Linked DNA regions of Homo sapiens: all the other regions are linked to region 4. The links are contacts of gene promoters, found by promoter capture Hi-C in blood cells and fetal thymus (Javierre and others, 2016). All regions are on one chromosome and are shown on one strand. The core of a region is centred on a gene start or on the middle of the fragment in contact, and the rest is flanking DNA. Distances in the headings are between cores, read along the strand shown. Region 1 overlaps CLINT1 (clathrin interactor 1). Region 2 overlaps CLINT1 (clathrin interactor 1). Region 3 overlaps CYFIP2 (cytoplasmic FMR1 interacting protein 2). Region 4 holds the start of RNF145 (ring finger protein 145). Region 5 overlaps FAM200C (family with sequence similarity 200 member C).

The links. The method cuts DNA at HindIII sites, captures the fragments that hold promoters and counts their contacts. A CHiCAGO score of 5 or more calls a contact.
Region 1: a contact is called between a fragment that was not itself captured here and the fragment with the promoter of RNF145 in region 4, in 1 of 17 cell types (total B cells). The highest score is 6.2, in total B cells.
Region 2: a contact is called between a fragment that was not itself captured here and the fragment with the promoter of RNF145 in region 4, in 1 of 17 cell types (total CD4 T cells). The highest score is 5.4, in total CD4 T cells.
Region 3: a contact is called between a fragment that was not itself captured here and the fragment with the promoter of RNF145 in region 4, in 1 of 17 cell types (total B cells). The highest score is 5.0, in total B cells.
Region 5: a contact is called between a fragment that was not itself captured here and the fragment with the promoter of RNF145 in region 4, in 4 of 17 cell types (erythroblasts, total CD8 T cells, naive CD8 T cells and 1 more). The highest score is 5.5, in erythroblasts.

The regions. Positions count from the first base shown.
Region 1 is chr5:157,802,760-157,807,685 of GRCh38, forward strand. It overlaps CLINT1 (clathrin interactor 1), which reads right to left. Exons shown (of 12, transcript NM_014666.4): 7 at 3,107-3,353; 8 at 891-960. Among named protein-coding and RNA genes, the nearest start is that of CLINT1, 54 kb to the right of the region's middle. The HindIII fragment of the contact is 991 bases long and covers 884-1,874 here.
Region 2 is chr5:157,849,651-157,854,636 of GRCh38, forward strand. The region is part of intron 1 of CLINT1 (clathrin interactor 1); the gene reads right to left. Among named protein-coding and RNA genes, the nearest start is that of CLINT1, 7.0 kb to the right of the region's middle. The HindIII fragment of the contact is 9,777 bases long and covers 1-4,986 here.
Region 3 is chr5:157,267,584-157,271,551 of GRCh38, forward strand. All of the region lies in intron 1 of CYFIP2 (cytoplasmic FMR1 interacting protein 2), which reads left to right. Among named protein-coding and RNA genes, the nearest start is that of CYFIP2, 3.4 kb to the left of the region's middle. The HindIII fragment of the contact is 1,573 bases long and covers 611-2,183 here.
Region 4 is chr5:159,206,087-159,211,128 of GRCh38, forward strand. It overlaps RNF145 (ring finger protein 145), which reads right to left and starts at 3,467. Exons shown (of 11, transcript NM_001199383.2): 1 at 3,145-3,467. It overlaps LOC107986468 (a long non-coding RNA gene), which reads left to right and starts at 1,941. Exons shown (of 2, transcript XR_001742943.2): 1 at 1,941-2,594; 2 at 3,773-4,066. RefSeq lists enhancers at 1,578-2,233, 1,833-1,882, 1,973-2,022, 2,133-2,252, 3,840-3,939 and silencers at 3,150-3,339, 3,380-3,669. The HindIII fragment of the contact is 10,196 bases long and covers 1-5,042 here.
Region 5 is chr5:160,392,396-160,397,437 of GRCh38, forward strand. FAM200C (family with sequence similarity 200 member C) reads right to left here. Exons shown (of 2, transcript NM_022090.5): 2 at 753-3,144. The coding sequence starts at 3,095. The coding sequence ends at 1,311. Among named protein-coding and RNA genes, the nearest start is that of FAM200C, 5.1 kb to the right of the region's middle. The HindIII fragment of the contact is 1,131 bases long and covers 1,558-2,688 here.

The DNA of each region.
Region 1 (4,926 bases), core at 129-2,628, 1.4 Mb before region 4:
GGTCTCGAACTCCTGATCTCAGGTGATCCACCTCCCTCGGCCTCCCAAAGTGCTGGGATTACAGGGGTCAGCCACCACGCCCAGCCGCCCTCTTTAAATATGTTTGGTAGTTACATACTTTCAGAGAATGTCATTCCTCTGACTGAAGCACTTGCCATTGTTTATCACTAGATAACTATTTGTGACTCTGATTAATGATTATTTTCTCCACTTGACCTTCGCATGAGGACAACAACTCTGTTTTTTACAAGCACCCAGATCAGTGTCTGGTTCAACAAATATTTGTTCAATTAAAAGAATAAAAAGTTAAATGATCTCTAGGCATGCCCAAGGTGACAGCTGCAATTAAAATTTAGGGAAAGACAGTAAAATGCGCAGAGCAGTACCTTTTGCTTATAAAGAAAGTAAAGGCAACAGTTTAAATGCAATTTTTTGTTTCTCCAAGTTAATCTTAAAAATTAAAAATGGAAACTATAGATTCCAAAATCTATGATGAAAAATTTCAGAAAGTACATGATGCCTTGAAATACTATTTATTATTAATTAGGGAAGACACAGTACATCAGGTATGAGGAGTCATTAAAATCTAAGTATGATAATGATTTGAGGATACTATTATTAACCACCAATAAGTACTGACCACAAACAAAGTTTTGCTAGTCTGAGGGTGGGTCAGAAAAAGGTATAAAATAGGGATAGAGAAATGGGTGTACATATAAAAAGATAAGCAAAAATAACACAATGATTCCAAATAATGCTCAAGACTCACTAATTTCATATAAAAAATGAACCCAATGCAAATAAGTAATCTTATTTTTCAATCTATCTTTTATTTGGCATTTTAAAAAATGACTCTCAAACCAAAAGAAAAGGCCAATGTAGAAGCTTACCTGTTGACTGGCTGGTGCCATCAAACAGATCAACAAGGTCACCAGATGACTTGCTGCTAGGCACTGAAGTCTGAAAACACACACATAACTCAGGAGCTTCGAAAAGTTTGTTTTTCTAAAAATCAGCTCTATCCATCTCTAATTCTCAATTTAGACATAAATACCTGTAATTAGCTTAATAAGGGTAGGGTTTTCTGGAAAAAGAGTACTGACCTTGAATCCTTATGGAGAGGCAGCAAGCACTTTTAAGTACCTCCATTCCCAGCAGTGTAAAAGTCTCTTAACATTGACACTTTTTTTCCTACCTCACTTTTCTGACTGCATTTCACTCTGGAAAATATTAACTGCCAGATCCCACTTGAATCTTAATGCTAAGTATCAGTTCATTAAAAAAAAAAAAAAAAAAAAATACCCTAGCATATGTACCAGTCCCATACAATACACTGAGTCATAATTGCCCAGGTATAAAAAGGCCAAGACCTTGGCCTGTTAAAGTCTTACAAGAAAGCTCCCTAGATAATTCCAAGGCTTGAGATCCACTGGATTAGAGGTCAAGATCCTAAACAGCTCTAAATTTCTATGAACCTTAGCAAAACTTATTGTTTGTATATCACACAAGTTAGTATAATTCTATGTTATTTGATATATTGATATGTTTCATATTTAGTTCCCCAACTAAACTGAGGCCTATACCTGTAATACTATTTTTATCTTCTCCACAAAGCTAAGCACCCTGATACCTAAATACCTATGTCCTATATGTTAGATATATACATGCTAAATTAGAACTCAATTATTAGGCAATGGGGAAACCCTAAGATCCTAGGCATGTTGATTTGAACTTTGAAAACTAAAATACTATATACTGTGATTCCAAAACACCTTTAAGAACAGATCCAAATGAGTTGGGTAACTTTCTAAGAACTTCAACCTTCTAGACATTTTTTTTGAGGGGAGGAGGGTAAATGAAAACAAAAAAGAAAAAGCTTGTACTGCCGGGCGCGGTGGCTCAAGCCTGTAATCCCAACACTTTGGGAGGCCGAAGCAGGTGGATCACTTGAGGTCGGGAGTTCGAGACTAGCCTGACCAACATGGAGAAAGCCCGTCTCTACTAAAAATACAAAAAAATTAGCCGGGCATGGTGGTGCATGCCTGTAATCTCAGCTACTCGGGAGGCTGAGGCAGGAGAATCACTTGAACCTGGGAAGCAGAGGTTGCGGTGAGCCAAGATCGCGCCATTGCACTCTAGCCTGGGCAACAAGAGCGAAACTCGGTCTTCCAAAAAAAGAAAAAGAAAAAGAAAAAGCTTGTACTACAAATATAAAATATTTATTGCAGAGTGTCATATATTCAGGCTATACTACAAACTGTTATTTAAAATCCTTTAAGATATGTGATAAAAGTCTCTATTATTAAAAAAATTATACAGATATTTGGCAAAAGCTGACATGGTATTTGTTATTGCAACTAAGCAGGCCTGGTTTTATTTTCAGAGTCACCTACAATCTGCTGCATACATTAGAAAACTGTTTTTCCCAGCTTTTAGCTATTTCTCTTGCAAAGACACAAACTGGGGAAACAGTAGTCGGGGAAAGTGACAAAAACAATAATTTAGTCTTTTGAGGCAAATCTCCCTATTTGGCAGATTTCTGTTGAAAAGACTAGGGTTTGGCCAGGTACCTAGCAGGTGGATTTCATCTCTATGGTAAATAAAAACAAACGAAGATGGTACAAGAGGCAGTGCTTCTTTTGATACTGATCAGTAATGACTGTGAGGCAAACACGCCTCCCTTTATAGGCAACGTTTCTACATTACATGAGATAACTTGCCCCTATATATCTCTTCTTACTCCCTCGTTTGTCATTTCTTAAAACTTTCAAATACTTCCAATGTTTTCTTTAGTGAATCTACTTGTGGTTGGTAACCAGTATTGTCTAGATGGGGACAGAGGCACTACATTCTGATTCACAACCTTCCCCAAACAAACCAAAAGTGTCATTTCTACTTTCATAGAAAGTACCCAATCATTCAGCAATTGGACAGGTTTCTCCCCTCAAAGAGATTTCTTATTATTAATGTCTCTTGGTAATACATGCCAGATGATCCATAATTAATATGATTGCCTAGAAATGCCCAAGCCTACTAATGCAGGAATTCGAAGAGCGGTTTATAAAAATAAAACCATGTATAATGTGTAAACTACTGCCATTCCCACCTTAACTGAAGACTGAGGTGTGTGGGTTGAAGCATTCTGATCTGGACTTGCTTTGTCCCCTGTGTAATGTGCTGCTGCTCCAAGATCAATGGTTTTGGAAGGATTTGCTGTGCGCTTGTGTCTGGTTGTGGTGGTCTCTGTGGCCTGTGTGATATGAATATGCTTTGTCGTCACAGTCTCCTCTTCATCTTTGAATTCACCTTTGGGAGATCTGCCTCTTCTCGCTTTCTTTTCCTCATCGCTGTCGCTAAAAGATATTAAAAATGAAGCAAAATAATAAGACGGGATTATTTTAAAATGGGTCCCTCAGTGATTTGAGCTAAAGAATTTCAAATACAGTAACTCCAAAATTTCATACTTTGACTACTTGACAGGGATCAACAGAATGTTATCTAAGCTGTCTGAATAATGATATATGTGCGCTGGGGAGGGGAAGTGGAAACACAGAGAATATCCTATATAAGTCTAAAATACTGCTACAAAAAAGTATTTACATAAATGTGTATAAATAAAAAATGTCAAAATAACTCGTTTTTATTACAGATTTAAGCTTAACTTAAAAATAAAATAGGATTTGATATCAGAATCCATGATAAGACCCTGAGAGTTCAAACACTTGCATGTGATGATTATTTTCTTGACATGGACTGTGTGCAAATTACTATAGTTCCACTTTTACAACACAATTCTGCATCAACTCTCAAAGACTAATGTGTGTACATAATAAAATAATAAAAGTTCAATGGATGCTAAAAAAATCACACATCTTAATTCGAATAATTAAACTCATCTGTAAATGCATGAAAATATAAGGGAATGCACTTTACAACTGTGCTATTTTACTATAGTATCAGGAGATCAAACTTTTATATAACTATAGAAAATGCTTTCTAGAAAACAACTGTATTTAAAATATTTTAAAGATAATTCTCCTTCAGCCACATTCAACAATTTTTTCTTTCCTTTTTCTTTAATAGTGAAAAAGATTTTAAAAACTAAACAGTAAAAGCCTGGGTTTTTCATATGCTAGGAATGAAAATATCAGCCCTAGTCTGTTCTCTAGTAACAAGTCATTGGGTTTTTTTCTGATGTAAGTAGGAGAGAGAGAGAGAGAGAGAGAGAGAGCGAAAGAGAGAGAAAGAGAGAAATGTTACTTGAAACATGTTCCATTACCTGTATTACTTAATTTTAGAGTAGGTGGTTTAATTTATAAATATTCTGGAATATAATGTTTAAAATTCTCCTTTAAACTGCTGATGCAATTTACCTCAGACTGAACTATAGCAACTTGTACTTAAATATAAACCAATCTGGAACTTGTATAAATCAAAGATCAAAAAGAATGACTTCCCACACAGAGCAAAGGGGTTAAATATATTTTTATATATAAACATTTTAAGGAACCTACAAGTTCTGATACGCATTCAAAAGCCCTTACTAACTTCTCAACAACAAATGACCTGAAGATTCCCATTAGTCCTACAAGTAAAACTGAAATTTCTTACTTTTTTGGTGTCCAATTTTATTTCAGCGCAAAATAATTTATTCACAAGTTGAAAATATAAATCTGACTAGCACACGATGAAATGGAAGCTCCATATCTGATCAATGTTCAAGAATTCCTGAATGTAATAGTGAACTAATAAGTATGAAATTCAGGTAACATGCCATCAGGATTGAGGTCATATGCAACTCTGTCAAAAAATCTACTCTTCTCTCACAAATACTTTAAGATAAAAAGTTCCTGGTGTGCCCTATCATTATCACGATAAATCATGTTCACTGCATTTTCACTCTTTTAAACCTAAATACTCCTTAAA
Region 2 (4,986 bases), core at 1,701-4,200, 1.4 Mb before region 4:
TATCTTCTAGATGTGCTATCTGTGGCACACTCTTGGCATTCTGTGCCCAATTTCCTCATAAGAAAATTGAACATAACAATGTTGTCACCTTTGTTCTTGGCACATGGCAAATGCTCAATAACTATTAGCTTTTATTATTAGAAATATCTGGATTTAAAGGATATCCTCTGTAATAAATATCAACTTACCAAATTTAATGTATTCATTCAAAAATATTTGAGCGCCTACTATGTGTCATAATTGTTCTAAGAGTTAGTAATACAGCAGTAAACAAAACAAAGTTCCTGCCCTCAAGGAACTTGCATATCAGAGGCAGGAGATGAATACATGTAACAGAGGAAGGCAAGCACAGAAAAAAATAGTGACGAGTGTGAGTGCATACTATGTAATACAGGAGGTCCACTGAACAGAACAGAGAAAGTGAGGGACAGTGGTGGGAGAAGAGATCACAGGCGGGGCAACAAAGAGCCAGATCTGTACAGGCAATTAAGCAATGAGATGAGAAGCCACTGGAGAATTCTGAACCCATTTGACTTAGTATTTTTAAAGAATCCCTCTCGCTGCTGAGTGGACAGCAGATGACAGGGCTAAACATTTTACATGCTTAGTGAGAAACAGGCCATCCTTCAAAGCCCCATTCAGTACCGAACTTATAAGCCAAATACATCAAACTAAGGATATTACTGGCTGGGCACAGTGGCTCACGCCTATAATCCTAGCACTTTGGGAGGCTTGAGGCGGGCGGATTGCCTGAGCTCAAGAGTTTGAGCCCAGCCTGGGGAGCATGATGAAACCCTATCTCTACAAAAAATTAGCCGGGCATGGTGGTAAGCACCTGTAGTCCCTCTTACTTGGGGGACTAAGGTGGGAGGATGGATTGAGCCCAGGAGGTCAAGGCTGCAGTGAGTCAAGATCGTGCATGCCACTGCGCTCCAGCCTGGGTACAAGTGAGACCCTGTCTCAAAAAAAAAAAAAAAAAAAAAAAAAAATTATTTAACCATGGGGGTTTAACTACAAATTAAGACATGTAGTTTCAACCGTATAACCTAAGTCACTTTAAAAAGTGATAAATGAAAAATTAGTATGAGAAAAATTAATAGAAAAAGGCTCAGTATGCCTATTAGCATTGTTCTTTTTTTTAATATTAAAAAAAATTTTTTTAGAGACAAAGTTTCACTCTGTTGCCCAGGCTAGAGTGCAGTGGCACAATCACAGCTCACTGCAGCTTTCAACTCCTGGGTTCAAGTGATCCTCCCATTTCAGCCTCCCATGTAGCTGGGACTATAGGCATGCATCACCATGTCCGGCTAATTTTTTAATTTTTTTGTAGAGACAAGGTCTGTGTTGCCCAGGCTAGTCTTGGACTACTGGGCTCAAGAGATCTTCCCTTCTCGGCCTCCCAAAGTGTTGGGATTACAGTTGTGAGCCACGGCACCTGGCCTTGCACTGTTCTTTAATGATTTACTAAAAATGCATGAAAACAAATGGCAAACAAACAAACAAACAAAAAACCCGAAAATTGAATTTTCAATGCATGCCTTTTTTCTACTATAAAAATATAAGCTATTTGAATGAGAATTCTTGAATGAAACATTTCATTCAATAGTTGTTGAAAAAGCACGCATGTACGTTTACCACATAATGATGAGTGTGTGCAAAATTATAAAAGATTATTTATATTAAAGTTATCTAGAACTTAAATACTGTCCTAAGAATTGAGAAGCTAAATAAAATTCATGTCAAAACAAATATTCTAGGCCAGGCACAGTGGCTCACACCTGCAATTCCAGCATTTTGGGAGGCCACGGTGGGTAGATTGCTTGAGCTCAGGAGTTCGAGACCAGCCTGGGAAATGCGGCAAAACTCCATTTCTACCAAAATACAAAAATTAGCTGGGTGTTGTGACATGTGTCTGTCGTCCCAGCTACTTGGGAGGATCGCTTAAGCTACTTGGGAGGATCGCTTAAACCTAGGAGGCTGAAGCAGAGATGGCACCATTACACTCCAGCCTGAGTGACAGAGCAAGACCCCGTCTCAAAAAAAAAAAAAAAAAAGAAATGAAATATTCTAAAATTGGCTAACTAGACTCTTCTTAAATGAAGTACAAACCATTCATGTGCACTGTTGCACATTAACAAAATCACTCACATTTAATAATTCGTTAGCTAAATCTATCCACAAGTAATAAGTAGCTATAAATTGGCTCAAACATAGGAATATATTACGTTCCTTTACCTGTATTTAATTTTCAGGCAAAAGAGCCCTGGTAAGCCAAATAATTTCTTGCCAATTTGAGGGGTTGAATAACCAGAAAGCCCTTTCTCCAATGTGCTTTCCTTGTATATACTGTTTGTCCATTGTCAAACACCATGAATTTGGTATCACATATTTTAGAGGATTCTTTTTCTTGATATTGTTCAGTCTCTTAAGAATAAATTGTCTGCTTCAATTTGCATTTATGAAATAAATCTTTTTATGTTTTAGTAATGTTTTACATTAGCAGTTACTTTAAAATCTTGAGAATACACAAAACAAGCTGAACAAAATATTAAGAATTGGCAGATGGAATTCGCGATATGTCTTTCCAAAGACTTTATTCCTCAACATGTCTTTTGAAAGGGTATTTCTGCAATATGCTTTGCAATATTAAAGTAGAAGCCATTTATGATTTAGCAAAAATAATACAAGGCATAAACAACAGAGGTATTTAAATTAGCTGTCCTATATGTAGGCTAAACTGAGTCTTAAGAGAGAGTACTCACTGAAAATAATGATTTCATGGATGAAGATATAGTTCCTACATACTTACAAATAACCTAGTCTGACAATGATATCTCTATTTTCACAAACACTGTATTCCTTTGATTTTTCTAGTGTTATACTGTTTTGTGTGTAACAGTAATAACAGTAATAGATGTTTCAAGAGTTTACTGTATGTCAAGTACTATACTGTTTCACATTTAATCCTCATAATCCTATAAAATATCATCTCTATTTTACAGAGAAATAAAGATACCATTCTAACACATAAGATCACCGTTTCTAGTAGCAGACCTAAGATTTCAATCCAGTTCTCACCTCTGAACCACTAGCTATTCCCACATTTATTAAACACCATCTGGAGGCACCTAAGTATAGTGGCAAAGTATATTTGGCTAGCAAATTATTATAAAAATACATAGATGGACAAACACACATAATTAAGCTAAACAAGGAAAGCTCACATGAAGCGTTAACCTGAAAAACACAGAAGAGTAAACAGTAAAATATGTTGTCACCAAAGGTAGCTGAGACTAAAAAGTTAACTGTATATAAGAACCTTCAAAAGTACTAAAAATGTACTTTGAATCTGTGAAGTGATCTTCATTAAAACAAACATTGGAAACAAGTAGGAAAATAATATAAGCATACAAAAGGCCAGAGGCAATGGCTCATGCCTGTAATCCCAGCCCTTTGGGAGGCTAAGGCAGGCAGATCACATGAAGTCAGGAGTTCGAGACCAGCCTGGCCAAAGTGATGAAACCCCGTCTCTACAAAAATTAGCTGGGCATGGTGGCACATGCCTGTAATCCCAGCTACTTGGGTGGCTAAGGCAGGAGACTCGCTGGAACCTGGGAGGCAGAGGCCAGTCGCAGTGAGTTGAGATCACACCATGGCACTCCAGCCTGGGAGACAGAGCAAGACTCCATCTCAAGAAAGAAAGAAAAAAAAAAAAGTCCAGAAAAAGACTCAACTGTAGAGCCATATTGTGAAACCTTGGATTACTAGCAAATGGCACTCAAAATAAAAAAGGCTAAGTACTTTCAATGGACATATCAGTAAACAGATGAAAAACTGCTTTGTAGGCCGGGCACGGAGGCTCACGCCTGTAATCCCAGCACTTTGGGAGTCTGAGGCAGGTGGATCACCTGAGGTCAAGAGTTCAAGACCAGCCTGGCCAACATGACGAAATCTCGTCTCTACTAAAATTACAAAAATTAGCCGGGCATGGTGGCACGTGCCTGTAATCCCAGCTACTCAGGAGGCTGAAGCAAGAGAATTGCTTGAACCCAGGAGGCAGAGGTTGCAGTGAGCCAATATCGCACCATTGCACTCCAGCCTGGGCAACGAGAGCGAGACACCATCTCAAAAAAAAAAAAAAAAAAAAAAAAAGAAAAACTGCTTGTAAACTAATACTAAAGTGTGCAAGAAAACATAAGAGGCAGTTAAGTGCTTTTTAAAAGCACCCTGACAGTAGTACTAAATAGATTAAACTACAGAAAATTACCCCTAAGAAATGCTAGCAGAGATAAACCAAACTCATCTTTCTTTGGAATTAAATTCCTAATATCTACTTGTGTCCAGTTACTAGAAAAGGAGGAGAATAATTAATTCATTGTTTCAGCAATAACAATTACTTATAATCGGTTCAAAGAAAAGTTGACATGGGAAGACTAGAAAGCTGACAACTATCTTACTATCTCTGCTTTCAAATTCCAAGAAGCAAACTGAACAGAGATTTACTGGTAAGATAAAGAAAATAAAGGGGATGATATCTGAAGACTGAAAGAAAAGAAAAGAAAAATAATCCATTCAAGTTGTAGCATATTTGTAGTGGCAAGGTTCTTGAAGGCAGGTATTGTATGTTTCGAGTTCAGAAAATAGAGTACTAGACCAGGCGCAATGGCTCCCGCCTGTAATCCCTGCGCTTCAGGATGCTGAGGCAGGCAGACTGCCTGAGCCCAGGAGTTCAAGACTAGCCTGGGCAACATAGCAAGAACCCTTCTCCACAAAAAAATTTTTTAAAATTAGCCACGCATGGAGGCGCAGCTGTGGTCCCAGCTGCAGTGTGCATGTTTGCATCACTGTGCTCCAGCCTGGACAACTGAGTGTGACCCTGTCTCAAAAATAAAAAATAAAAAGAAACCAGACTACTAATCCAATAAATAACAAATGTATTGCCTGTTAAAATAAATGAATATACTATTCTTTATAAAAGCAAAAGTT
Region 3 (3,968 bases), core at 147-2,646, 1.9 Mb before region 4:
AGTGTCAGAAATGGTTTTCAAGAAAGGAGCCAATGATTGTGTTTATCTTGAAGAGCTAAATACAAAAGAAGTTCCCATTTGATGCAGAGCAGGTGCTTTACAAGTCATTTGACCGGAAAAGAAACAGAGGATGGAGGCATTTTAATGGGAAACAAAGCTTTAATGGGAAACACTGTAGAAATATTTGCTATCACTAATGGTAGAATTTCAAACAGTGGGCTGGAAGTGGAGGTGGGGAGCTGGGTAGTTCTTTTGGGAACGGGTCCCTGAAATGACAATATCTAGCAGCTGTCAGCTCTGTATTTGGCAAGGGCAGCTTTGGCCCTGCAGGCAGGAATGCTGTAAGAGTGTGTATGCATGCATGTGCATGCGTGCATGTTTGTTTGACTGGTCAGGTGTTACTGTCACCAGAAGGCATTTTTTGAGCACCCAGTGTCCACTTTCGGGATGAGAAACTTGTGTACACAGGGTTCCTCGTTGGCATTGGCTGCCCTTTGCCAAGGCAATTATTAGACCTCAAGAAGATAGTGTTGTTGCTTACAAAGTCAGTGCCTCTAGCTAGTTGTGCGCACTGAGCCTCTGGCTGGGGGCATTAGCTCTCTGCTCACTAAGCTTCTTTATTATATTTCCTGGCCAGTTCTGACCGGTTCTGTAGGCACCCAAGGCTGCCTTGTTCAGTCCCTGCTGGAAAATGAAAAAGGAAAAACTTGCTTTAGGCATTAGGCCAAGAGTCGGATGTACAACCCAGTGGGGTTGGAGAGTTTTACTCAAATCAGATGCTGGCCCAGAGAAGGAAGTAGACATGAATTCAAAAACCGGTAAAAGGCCCTGGTAGAACACTACATGACCCCTCTGATAAATCATGCCCTCTCTGATGTTCAGTGGCCTCTGCTGCTGTCATCAACCAGAAAGCTGAATGAGATGATGAATCGGCTACAAGCTAATTAACGGGAAAAGCGCTCCTGGAAAACAGTACGGGTCCCAGTCCCTACGTTTAAAGATTGGACTACACTCTCAACGCAGCTTCTTTGGACCACTGTTGGCCCCAGGGGTCCACCAAAAGCGTCACAAAATGGCCTTTTGTAGCCTCCATGTGGCCACCGTAACAATGAGTCTATTTCTTTACTGGCAAGTATTAATTATTCACTTGTAATTGACAAAGCCAGACATCAGTCACCTCACTGGAGTCTTTATGAAAGGCTTTTGGTCCTGTCATTCTGAGGAGCAAAGCCATGCCTAGGGTCCAGGGGATGGCCCCTGCATCAGTAGTGAGATGGTGGGAGAAGGGGGGCAGGCTGCTGCCTTCTTGGCAGTGAATGGAGGCAGGGGAGGAACTAGAATATCTTTGGATGCTCTTACTACCCAAGGGGTGCATGAAAGTGCCGAGCAGAATGCTTAGCACATAGTAAGTACTAGCATATTTATGTATTTATTGTTATAATGTATTAATTACATAATCATTAAGAATTTGGCTTATGTATGTAATCAACCCTTGGCTATTACCAGCCCCTCTCCCTCCAGAGCTTTCCTGAATTTTGCTTTTTTGAGGGAAGTTGGTCTCTGTGACCAGTAAACCCAGCCCCAAGTTTACCGGCCGAAGGAAGGGAAAGTTAAGAGTGATAGGGCATGAAGTGAAAGGCTTCAGGTGGGAAGTGCTCTTAAGTAGCACAAGAGAGGTGGGTGGAACCTGAGTAGGTAGGGAGAAGTGGGAGGGAACAAGCCAAGCAGAAGCCCAGGGCCATTCTCACATTTCAACACGTAGAGTTAAGGAAGGGCCTCTTCCTCTGTGAGAATTCAGCATTTTGCAACCATCCAAAAATGTTGAGGGCATGCTTTGCTTCCAGGGCAGACAGAGCAGCACAGTGAGCATGGGACACAGGATCCCTGACTTGCTGTGTGCCCTTAAACCAGCCACTACCTCTCTGACGTTCAAAATTGAGCAATGGAAGGCAGCCTGCCCAACTGTTACCTGCCTGTCATCATGAAAGCCTGCGGATGAGGTAATGTCTGTAAATCCCAGTCTGAGAAAAAAAAGCCGTGGAAATAGAGAAGGAGCCTCCTGAATGTGTGACTCTTTTGGGTAAATGCCCTCCATTCCTTAAGAAACAATTTATTAATTATATATTGTGTGTCACTTTAAGAAGATGGATCTGTGGCCTCTCTGTACTGTTGAGCCAATGGGAAGCTTAAAGGCACTTTGTGATTCACAGATTCTGTCAAGGCCCCTGGATGGCCTTGTCTGTACAAAGACACTTCAGAATTCAGTCAGTGGGTATGGGACGCCTCCCAGGATGCAAAGAGCTTAGATATTGGCTTTCTAGCCATGGGCATTATGCTAAGGGCTGTGTGTGATGTACCTCAAAAAATAGCCATTTAAGCCATACTTGGGCCCTGGCAACAGAGGGTGCAAATTCTTGAAAGAAATTGTTTTGAGAAGGCAGAGCTTGAGTTCAGGCAGAATTTCTTGCAGGGATCATTCTGGTTGCGTGGCATTTTGATAGACTTTGGGCAACTCAGATACAGGCAGTGAGAGAGGGAAGTAAATAGGACCTTCTTGCGAGATGCCTGAGAAAGACCCAGTGATGACTTCATCAGTAGACCTTTTGATTCTGTTTGCGTCATTATTTGGTCATTGTAGAGCAATGGTTCTTAGGCTTTAATCTCTAGGTAAAACAGAGGTGTGTTTAGTCTGTCCATGTTCTCTGTTTTCTAAGTAAGGCAGGAGGTGAGGTCCTCTGCAGGAAATAAAGGTGATGGACTGGTTAGGAAACTTCAGGAGACTTCAGGGTTTGGAACAGTTGCCTATGTGGGTGGAATAAGAAATAAACTGGGGAAGAATGAGAGAATTGTCTAACTTCACTGAAGGCCTGGCTGAGATCAAAGAGAATTTGCAGGGCTGACCCTCAGAGAAGACATGCAGTAACTCTTAAGGAATATCCGAGAACTATTTTTGATTTGTGCTTTTAAAATATGATGCTTTAAGATTTGTTTTGGCAAGATATGAATGGCAAGATAAGAATTCAGAACTAGAGGTCAGCCCCCTATCTCCAAGTCTGTTATACTTCCATATGGGAAAGAGAAATGAGGACCTGCTTCTTAGGGTTTGAAGTGGAAACTATACGACAGAAGGATTTTCTAAAGAACTCTCCTCAGATTCTTATATTGACAAGGCAGCCTTGGATATGGGACCTTAGAGAAGCATGATATTTTAACTTTCTTGTTAATTTTTTTAAACCAGAAGTTAAGAATTTTGGTCATTGGCTCATGCAGTCAACAAATCATTCATGAAGTATTAATTAAGCAAGTAATTCCTGGTGTGTGCCTATCTCTGTGCTGGTTGCTATGGGTCAAACTCAGATAAGATGACTATCCTTGGCATTCTTAGCAATCCAAAGAATTAGTGAAATATAAAGCAGTTTGTCGTGCAGTTAAAAACTGTGGACTCTAGACTGTGAGTGCTAAGGGAGTGAGAGAAATAAAGGTCATTAAGGGGCTTGGCTGGTCAGACCTTTGTGGAAAAGGCATGTCTTCGTGTGGGCCATGATAGATCGGTAAGATTTGAGAAGGGAAGAAGACAGTCCATAAGGGAGTGGAGACAGTTTGAGCAAAGGCACAAAGGAAGAGTATCCTTGGACAGGTTTATTATGCCCTGTATACCTTGGCCACAGAGAATGGTCTGCATGATCCTTAACACATGTCTTTAAGGAAGCCCTTTGGATGGAATGTCTCAACTGTAGTCATGGTCATTTGCTTTAGTGTTGGGAGGGTCCTGAGAGAGGCCCAAATCCAGTGATTCTTAACTGGTTGCTGTTGTGGTTTTTTTAGTACACAAAATGGACAATGTTGACATGCTGAACACATCAGCCCCCACAGCCAACCCCCCAACTCTGCTCCATTCCTGCCACTCAAGGGAAGAGATGAACATGCAAGCAATAATATCACACAGAGATCTTGAACCCTCGCCTCAC
Region 4 (5,042 bases), core at 2,217-4,716:
AAACAGAAAACAGGACACATTTCTATTTCTATAAAGAGAAAATACCGGGTCCCGAAAGCTGTCAATAAAAAACAATATCCAAGATCCCCCTCTACTACATAGTCAACTCGAGACTGAAATGTTTTTAACAAGGACTTTGGATAGAATTAAATACGCCCAAATAAACGAAACTAAATGTTGCATTTATTTCTATACGTGAATGTTATTTTAGCAAGTCAGTGGCAAGCTGGTCATGTATAAAGGCACTGACGAAACAAATTTAATACATGGAAAATCAAAGAGAAAAAAATTTCAAAACCTTATCACTTTGAACCCTTCTAAAGTAAAAGAGCACATGATAGTTATCAATACAAATAGGTACTTTACACTACACTTTAGCACCACACACTAAACCAACATCAAAACAAAACTTTAAAATATTCATCTTCTTTGCAAGTACTTGCAATTACTCACACCTGCCAAATCACTATATCATACAAACACGAAGTAAAATGGAGCCTTCTCTCCTGATCTAGAGAATACCTTTATAATGTTGCCTAATTTATCCTGTTCCAGATTTATTGTCAAACAGGGCTAATCAGCATATCCTAAAGTACAGGGGAGCTCAATATTCTCTTGAAAACAAAATAATACCAAATAATCCTAGAAAATAAGCAGGAGAGCTGAAAGCAGAAAAAACCGAAAGGTTTAACACACCCAAAGCCAAATACATAAACTTCCTATACTGTTTTATCTTCCATGCAAGATTTTAAAATGTCCTCCTTGAACTTTGAAAAGAACTGGGAAAGTAATATCCAACATGATGTGTCTGCAGGTAACATAAACTAAATGTGACTCAAAGATGTTTTACACAGTAAAACAGCTAAAAACAAACCAAAAAAAAAAAAGGCATTTCTTTCCAAAAACCACAAGAGGTGCAACAAATGCTAACCAAAAAGGAGACCTCAATGAGTTCATTAAATGACCTTCTCAGGCTTAGAAGCAGCAATCCGTAATTATGAAAACAGTAATGTCTTGTAGAAGTATAATGCTGTACAGTTTACCATTCAAATTTGTGGGTTAGAAAACACAGGGGGCTTCATTCTACACTTTCCTGAAAATACGGGATTTTAGTTTTGAATATGAAGAAACCAAACAAATCGTCCTGAATAAGAAAAATGTAGGTTTTTACAGTCACAGCTAATCTCTGAAGAACTATGTCAAATAAGAGAAATGAAAAATGTGATTTTTTATTTCTCTTATTTGAGTTCTTCAAAAATACACCTCCTAAACTTTTTTTTAAAAAGACAAAGAAAAAACAAGAATGACACGTGACCCAACTTAAAACTATTCAGTACAATACTTCTACACCTTCCCCCTAAAAAAGAAAAACAAAAATCATCATTCACCATTATCTCCTTTCTTTCTCCCAACCAGTTAAAAAAAAAAATTCTACCATCAACTAAAACTGATCTTAAGAAAAGTAAATTTTCGGGCTGTCCATCGGTTAGGATGGTAGGCCTCACTGAAAATGTTAAGAGCACAAAGCTAGAGCCTAAAATTCTAAGTAAAAGCCCAGAACTGAGATACCAGGAAAGAGAACGCATTTCTTACATAAGCAATGGCACATGTTTTAAATATAGCTGGTCCTCCCCACTCCCACTCCTTGCTAGCTAACTTTGTATGTACCTGATCTCCACATAAACTACTAGCAATTCTGTGGTTTCTCATCATCTCCCAAACCGCAAAGACAGGGAGTCTACTCTGAATACAAAGGCCATCTTTCAACTTAAGGAACAGAGAGAGGAAATAAAACTGCTACCTCTGCCATCGGCCGCTCAGCCTGGGTCACGACTGCAGCACCGACAGCTCATTCTTTTGGGCATGATTCAAGATTCAGTAAAACTGCACACTCCGTATTTTAAAAAATAAAAAGACACACAGTCCTCTCCTTCCCTTTCAGACTAGTTTCCTCTTTACTGCAGACTGCGACGCAAGGCCATCCACTAATCTTTGATGCCTGCTCACTGCACAGGCCCCTTCCTCTCTCCCCGCACCTCCTCCCACAACGCCTGCAGATCTCAGATGCGTTTGAACTACAGTAACCCCAACCCAGCTCGCGGCAAGCAGGCAGCGCAGCAGCAGTAGCAGCAGCAACCGGGCCGCCGCCGCCGCGGGGCTAAGAGATTACGTTCAGCAAAAACTCTTCCAGGAAAGAGGCTCGAGAGCTCCCCTCCTATCTCGCCAAGGGTGCTGACTCTGTCGCGCCACGCCACGTACCAAAAGGCTCGCGAAGAAAAACGCGGGCGAAGTTCAGCATCCCCGAACAGAAAGGGAACTCATTCCAGAAAGGGGGTTCACGGGTCTGAGGGTCCTTGGGTGGGGAAAGCAGTATTGGAGGGAGAAGACAGAAGGGATGGCAAGACAGAGGAAACCACGGGGACAAAAAGGAAGGGATGAGGAGCCCTCTTACTATAAAAGGGACTGACGGACGGGATGCAGAGCAATGGGCCCCCCTCGAAAAATGGACTGGCAGGCCCTTCCGCACCCCCAAACAACCTCGCACCACCTGAAAGCGGGGAGCTTGAGTTTGGGGCTGCGTAGATCAAAGCAGGGTAAGACGAAGGGAAAGAGGGAGGGGAGCTTGGAAGCAAAGTGAACAAAGAGGCAAAAGAGGCAAAGTTGGAAATGGAAACGAGAAAGGGAGCTGGAAAGGGGCCGCTCTGGAAGGGTCTTGAAAAAGGCCTAGAAATGGGATGCTGGGGAGGCAAAGGGGGACAGCCCCGAGGAAGGGCATCTCAGGAATGTAAGGGAGCGCTCCAGGCCCTGGGAAGAGGAAGGGATGGGAGGGCGGGGAGGCAGCCGAGGCCCGGGAGCTGGAACAGAGGGGGCTTTGCGCGGGGCCCAGGAGGGGAGAGCAGGGTCGGAGGGAGGCGACCACCGCGGGAAGAGCTAGAGGATGGGAGGGAGGGGTGCTGCGGCTGAAGAGGGGATGTGGACTCCTCCAATGCTAGGGAGAAGAGGGAGGTGAAGCGAGATAAAAGGAAAGGGGCGAACAGGGAGAAGAGGAAGGAGCCTGCGACGCGATGGGGGAGGGGAGGGAGGCCGTGGGAAGCGGCCGGGGGGCGCGGGGATGGGAAGGGGCCGGGCGGGCGGCGTGGTCACCTCAGGCTGCGGACTCCCTCCCTGGGGAGCGGCGCTGCCGGCGGGCGGGCTCCGCAACTCCCCGGCTCTCTCGCCCGCCCTCCCGTTCTCCTCGGGCGGCGGCGGGGGCCGGTACGGCACGGCTCACAGCGGCGGCTCTTCTGCGCCGAGCCTCGGATGTTGCTTCTGGGGAGGCGGAGGCAGCGGCAGCGGCAGCGGCCCGGCCCGTACGGTCACCATCGTCCGCGGCAGCAGGCGCTCGCGGGCCGAGCCCCTTAGCAGCCGGCGCCGGCGTCGGCGGCCATGGCCTCCTGCGTTTGCTCCTCCCGCCCCCGGCGCTCTGCGGCGGCCGCGGCCCGACTTCCGCACTCTGCGCCTGCGCGCGGCCCAGCCAGCGCGGCGCGCCCCTCCCGCGCGCGCCCGCGCTCACTCACAATCGCGCCCGCGGAGTGCTTTCCGCACCGCCTCCGGTGCGTGGGCGGGAGACATAAGCCTAGCCAAGCCCATACAGCCCGGCTCGGGTGGCTATGGAGAGGCGTACTGCAGAGACACCTGGACGCGCACTGTGACAGGCGCCATTCTGACACACGTGCTCTCTCACTCCCAAACACCACGGGCCGCAAGCGCTCACACCCACACTCACCTGCAGGGACCACGTGGGAGAATTTGAAGGGCTGATCCTGTCCCGGTGCATTCGCAGTAGCAATGATGCGAGAATTCGTTTTAACCTCGTCACTGACTGGACTAGACTGTAAACTCCTTGGCGTCTGGGATGGCTCAGCCGTGCCCAGCACCAAGTGCAGGCACTCAAACCCCTGTGGAGTAAGTGACTGGATGAATGAATGCATTGGAACTGTTCACTGAGTATCTGTAACAATTTTGATCCCATGGTTTGGTACAAAGAATTTTATTGCAGTATGAAATTAAATGGTGTTTGTGTGTTTGTCTTGTCTTGGTCTAAGGTTCAAAACAGGCTAATGTATGTTTTCCCCTCCCCAACGTAGAGGAGTTCCACTTTGTCTCTGTGCCAGTCTCTATCACAGAATGCGCAATCCTACCCTAATTTAAATGTCCACACCTTTTAGGGCAGGAACTGTTGCCCAGAATACATAGCCTGAAGCATATTGTGTGTTTACACAACGATAGTCTTCTGGGCTTGGCAAGACTTCTCATTCCCCATTTGTCTGCCACTCTGCCTCACCACGACCTTCTGCAACCCCCACTTCTATCTCCCCTGCCTTCCACCATCACCAAAACCCCTCCACTGTTTCTTGCTTTCTCTTTCGTTAGTTCCTGGGGAGCCAGTTGCTATGAGCACCTAGCCTGGCCTTAGATGTTGAAAGGGCCAGTGTACACAGAAGATACACACCCAGTGATGGGTAAGATGTTGCAACTATACTGGGTCATGCTGAAATTGTGAAGCCTCAACTTCTTCATGTGCAAGAGAAATTAATGTACTGTAATCTCGATGTCTGTGTTGAGGACCCTCCTTGTAAATTCAAGTCTCTGGCCTCTGCCCTTTGAATGGTAAACCCCCAATTCTGAACACTCTTGTATCCTGCTGAAATTGTGAAAGCAAGCTCTGTATTTAGAAAATGCAATCCCTGGAGGTATCAGTCAACCAAACTCTGAGTAACTTGCCTTCCATTAGTTTGATAGCTCTGTAGGAATCAAGTGTTTAAAATGTGTGGGAATTGTGTACATAACTCACTATAACCACCTTTCATCCAGGTGCCTCAGACTACTTCACCATAGTCATAAATCCTGTCACATCCCAGTGATGCAGTTCATGAGTCTCTTAATCTAGCCTGGTAAGTAAAAAAATTACAGAGGTCACATGAATAATGACTGGAATAGGAAATGGACCAAGATAGCAAGGCCTTATCTTGATCCCCTCCCTGTTTTAACAACTTTACATC
Region 5 (5,042 bases), core at 873-3,372, 1.2 Mb after region 4:
TCTTAATCAAAGGGCTATAAATAACCAACAAAGAGACTAACATTAGTGTAATAATAATAAAAAATTGAGAGTAGTAGGAGATGGATATTTTATAAATTCAATCCTTACATATTATCTAGGGGAGTCAATATATAACTTTTAAAGCTGATTCAACTGCTATATGTCATGGTATGAACATACTACTTAAGAGATGTGGGTGGAACCACAAGAAATTACAGAAGAAATGGGTAATTGGGCAGGAAGGGGATTGTGGCTTTTCCTTATAGGACTCTCTATATCATTTTTTCCCAGCCTTGAGCATGTAGTACTTTGATAAAATATTAATGTTTAAAAATAGAAATGAAAATTTATTTAAATTAAAAAATATTTTGCCAAATTATCATCCAGAAAAAGTGTGCTAAGTTAGATTCCCATGGGGAATTTTTTGATGGTCTTGAATTACTCCATTGATTTCATGTCAATTTATTTATGATTTATACTCTGACATTTTGAACTTAGAAAAATACATATAAGATGTAATATAAGTGACAAAATTAGGGTAAAGGAAAAATAAGTATAGGAAAAATTGAACCCAGAGGACCCAAGAATCCAAGAATCCATCAGAACAGTCTGGAAAGCTGGTTATGAATGAGGATCCTTGACCTTATCACAGGCCTACTAATCACAATCTCTAGGGTAAGGCTCAGGAATCTCCTTTTCAGCAGCCTTGATAACTTGGAGTTCTGAAGTAATTTAAAGATGACAAACAGTGATTAATATATTAGGCTATTTATTAATATGATATTCATAGCACAGGAGCTAGGGGAATGGACATTGTGAGACTAACTCCAAAGAGTATATTTAAAAGTAAGTCTTACATAAGCCAGATCATTCCTTTTCCCATTATATTTCATAATCCTCTTCTGATTTCATTAACCTCTCCATAACAAAGACGGGCGAACTCAATCTTTCATTTTGCCTTTTTGACTTCTGGGATATCTTCTCTTTTCTCCTGGCTCAATTCCTAGCCTATTGCACCATTTAGCTGGATATTCTAGTGCTTAGGTATCTTTTTCATATACCACACGAACAGGTTAAACAGATACTTAGAATTGGGAAAATCTCATGATAGCAACTAGGCAGTAGTACTTAATCTTTTCTGCTGTGTTTTTATTCTCAAAACATATTTTCACATGCCTCATTCAAAATTAAAGTTCTTAAGTTTTTTAGACATAGAATTCAGTATATCATAAATATGAAAGAGACAGAATTACAGCTTAATTTTACAATGATATTAAGATTGAAATTATTCATTAAAAAAGTATATCAGCTTACAGTGACTTCTGCTGTAGCTGTAGCTTTTGTTCAATGATGTCCGAGAAACGAGGAACTTTTTTTGAAATAGCCACACGGATATCATCACTCAGATTAAAGCAGCTTCTGGACTTTGTTTTGAAATGTAAAAGTGATGAAAATCCCAACTCACAAAGGTATGTAGTTGCAAATGGCATAAGGATTTCTAGAGCTGTCTTTGCCAGGTTTGGAAATGCTGTGAATTGGGCACACCAGAAATCCTCAAGCTTCATTGTCTCAAATTCCATTAGGATTTGGCCACTAGCTCGTAATTCAGCAAGATCATTTTTCATTAAATAACTATCATCAACAAAATCGATATTAAAAAGAAATGGATCCAATATCCATTTACTTGCCTCATTAAGATCTCCAATGGAAAAATATCCATGGAAGAAGTTGCTCAATTGTTGCAGATGCAGTGTTATTTCAGCTGCAATGAATATGCCTTCATTATCTGAAACAATTATTTCTTCAAGAAAAGGAAAATTGGTAAAATTTCTTTTCTCAATTCGTTTTTGCCAAAATGGAAACTTCCTAACAAAAGCAGATAACTTCTCTCTAGCTGATACTGTGTTCATCCCAGTCCTCTGCATAGATGCACTGAGTTCATTTAAGTGTTTGAATAAATCTGCAAGGTATGCTAGGTGAATTTTAAACTCTTTATTTTCAAAGCCATCAACTAAATTACTGCTCTTGTGGTGAAGAAACTGATTTATTTCTTCATACATTTCAAAAATGTGAGTAAGTATTTGGCCTCGGGAAAGCCACCTCATTTCAGTATGGAAAAGGAGGACACTATATTCTATGCCAATTTCTTCAAAGAAAGCCTGAAATAGGCGATGATTTGGAGCTCTCCCTTTGATGAAATTTATTACCCTCACCACAGTAAACAGAGCATCCCTCAGTTTTGTAGGCAATGTCTTTATGACAAGTGCATGAGGATTCAATAAACAATGTGTAACTACGATATGAGGTATCTCTTTTTTCACGTAGGCAACAAACTCGGAATTTTCTCCTAGCATAGAGGAGGCACCATCAGTACAAACAGAGCCACATACATCAAGTGCTATCTTATGCTTCAGAAAGAAGTCTCTGAAGAGATTGAACACATCTATTCCTTTCATGGATAGCTGCAATGGTTCACAGAAGAGAAATTCTTCTACGATCTCTCTTTCTTTTATATAGCGCACAAATGCCATTAGCTGACTGCAGTCATCCATGTCAGTTGTCTCAGCAAGCTGAATACCCACTTTAAGAGGACTGGCTTTGATATCTTCTAGAACTTGCTGTAAGATATCCTGGCTCATTTCATCAATTCTAGAATGGATCACATCATCTGATAAGGGTACCTGCTGAAGCTTTTTTTGTGCATCTGGTCCCAAAACTATTTGTGCTATTTCCAGTGCACAAGGTTTCACTAACTTTTCAGCTACTGTATGAGGATTCTTCTCCTTGGCACATAAATACGCAAATTGATACGATGCTTGTAATAAAGTATCCTCATGAGATGCAACTCCAAATGCTTTCAAGGTTTCACTCTGATCAGATGGTGCTGGCATATGCTTCAGGCTATTGAGATCATGCCCAGCTACACCACCATGCTGTCTGTTAAAATGGTCTGACAGTTTTGATGGTCTGAGGTCAGCATTTGAAAATACTGAGTTACACAACACACACTGTGGACGCTGAGTTCCATCTACTTCCGTTGTACAGGTGAACCAGTAGCGAACATAGTCATCATCCCATTTGCGTTTCTTCGACATGGCACACAAAAATTCTCAGGTAGTATTCCAGAGATGCCACAGAATTTTGCTTTGGGAGTAAAATATAACCCACACATTAAAAACCAGTGGCTAACTGAATTAAAACAAAGCCACATCACATGCTATCTTGTATATGTCAAGATACAGCCTGCAGCATGTCAATTCGAAGTAAGCCATGACAGGATATAGTTCAACTTAAAGCTAGCAACTCATAGCTAATGCCCTGGAATAAATGATTTGCCAGCAAGTTATATATGGGAGATTTGAGCTTAGACAAGTTATGAACACCTGTAAGTCCTTTATTGGTGAATTATAGTTATGGCTTAACTTGTTTTCAATAATGTATGTTACAAACAAATCTAGCACATTTTGTATCCCTAGAAAGGGCATCTCACTACCACCACCTTCTTCCACTCAGCCCCAAAGATGTATGCATACCCTCAGTTAAGAATCACTGAATAAAGGAGCAATTCACTAAATAAGGAAGGGTGGATTCTGACATGGAGGTTAAAATAATTGTATACATTTATGGGGTACAAGCACAATTTTGTTATATGCATAGACCACATAGTGGCAAAGTGAGGGTTTTTAGGGTATCCGTCACCCAAATAACATACATTGTACTCATTATTTCTCATCTACTCCCTCCCACCCCACTCTTCCACCCCACCCTTCCAAGTCTCCTTTACCCATCACTCCATTATCCACGTCCATGTGTACACATTATTTAGCTACCATTTATGAGTGAGAACATGGTAGTTCTTTTTAATAGTTAAAGACTAAACAGGTCTGTAATACTATTTGAACCTTGAGCAGTTTTGACTCCAACTTAGGCAGAGAATTTCAAATAGGTCTTTAAGTCTGATTAAGCCACCCCTGATGCAAAGGTAGGCTACAAATTGGCTCAGAGCTTCCTTGCTGCTAAGTGTAACACACTATCAGTCCATGATTCATAGTGTCCATATAAAAAAGCAAAATGGTCGGGCGTGGTAGCTCATGCCTGTAATCCCAGCACTTTAGGAGGCTGAGGTGGGTGGACTGCCTGAGCTCAGGAGTTCGAGACCAGCCTGGGCAATATGGTGAAACCCCATCTCTACTAAAAATACAAAAAATTAGCTGGGCATGGTGGCATACGCCTGTAGTCCCAGCTACTAAGCCAAGATCATGCCACTGCACTCCAGCCTGGGCGACAGAGCAAGTCTCTGTGGAAAAAAAAAAAAAAAAAAAAAAGCAAAACAACTTGCTCAGGGGAAACACAACTATTCTTGTTACCGAGACTTCAGAAAAATCCCTCTCATAGGAGAACACTCTTAAGTAAAATAACGAATTTCATGATGCTTTTCCACCTAAATACCTCTAAGGGAAAGCAGTCAAGAACACACACATGCACATACACAAAATAAGCAGCATTCCTAAGGTTTGGTTTAACCCAAAGACAGGATGTAGAAGGCCCTACCCATAGAGATTCTGATTCTCCAGCTATGGAGTGGGGGCCTAGAATCTGTATTGTAAGTATTTTAGATAATTCTTATAAATAGTAACTAGAACAGTGATCTGTGACAAGAGACACCATATCATCACAATCACTGGGAAACCCTTTCAAAATATACACGTCCCTGCACTACCTTAGAACTAATACATATCTTCTCCAGAAGCAGAACAAAAGAATATGAAATAATGTTGTTCAGGCAGTCCTGAAACACAACCTGGTTAAGTAGTCAGGCTTAGGGGAATAAAAACGTATCCTTCAAACCAATCCTTAGCTAACAAATATTCTAGGTTTCTAAGTGAATGGTCCCAATGCTTTAATAGATATTTAAATTTTCTACATTTTCTGAGTTGATGACAGCCTCCTATGAAAGTTGAAACCTAAAATGAAAGCCATATCTTTTCTCTTTCTCTCCCTTTAGCAACGAGTAAAGGCATAATCCACAGGTAGGCTCAAAT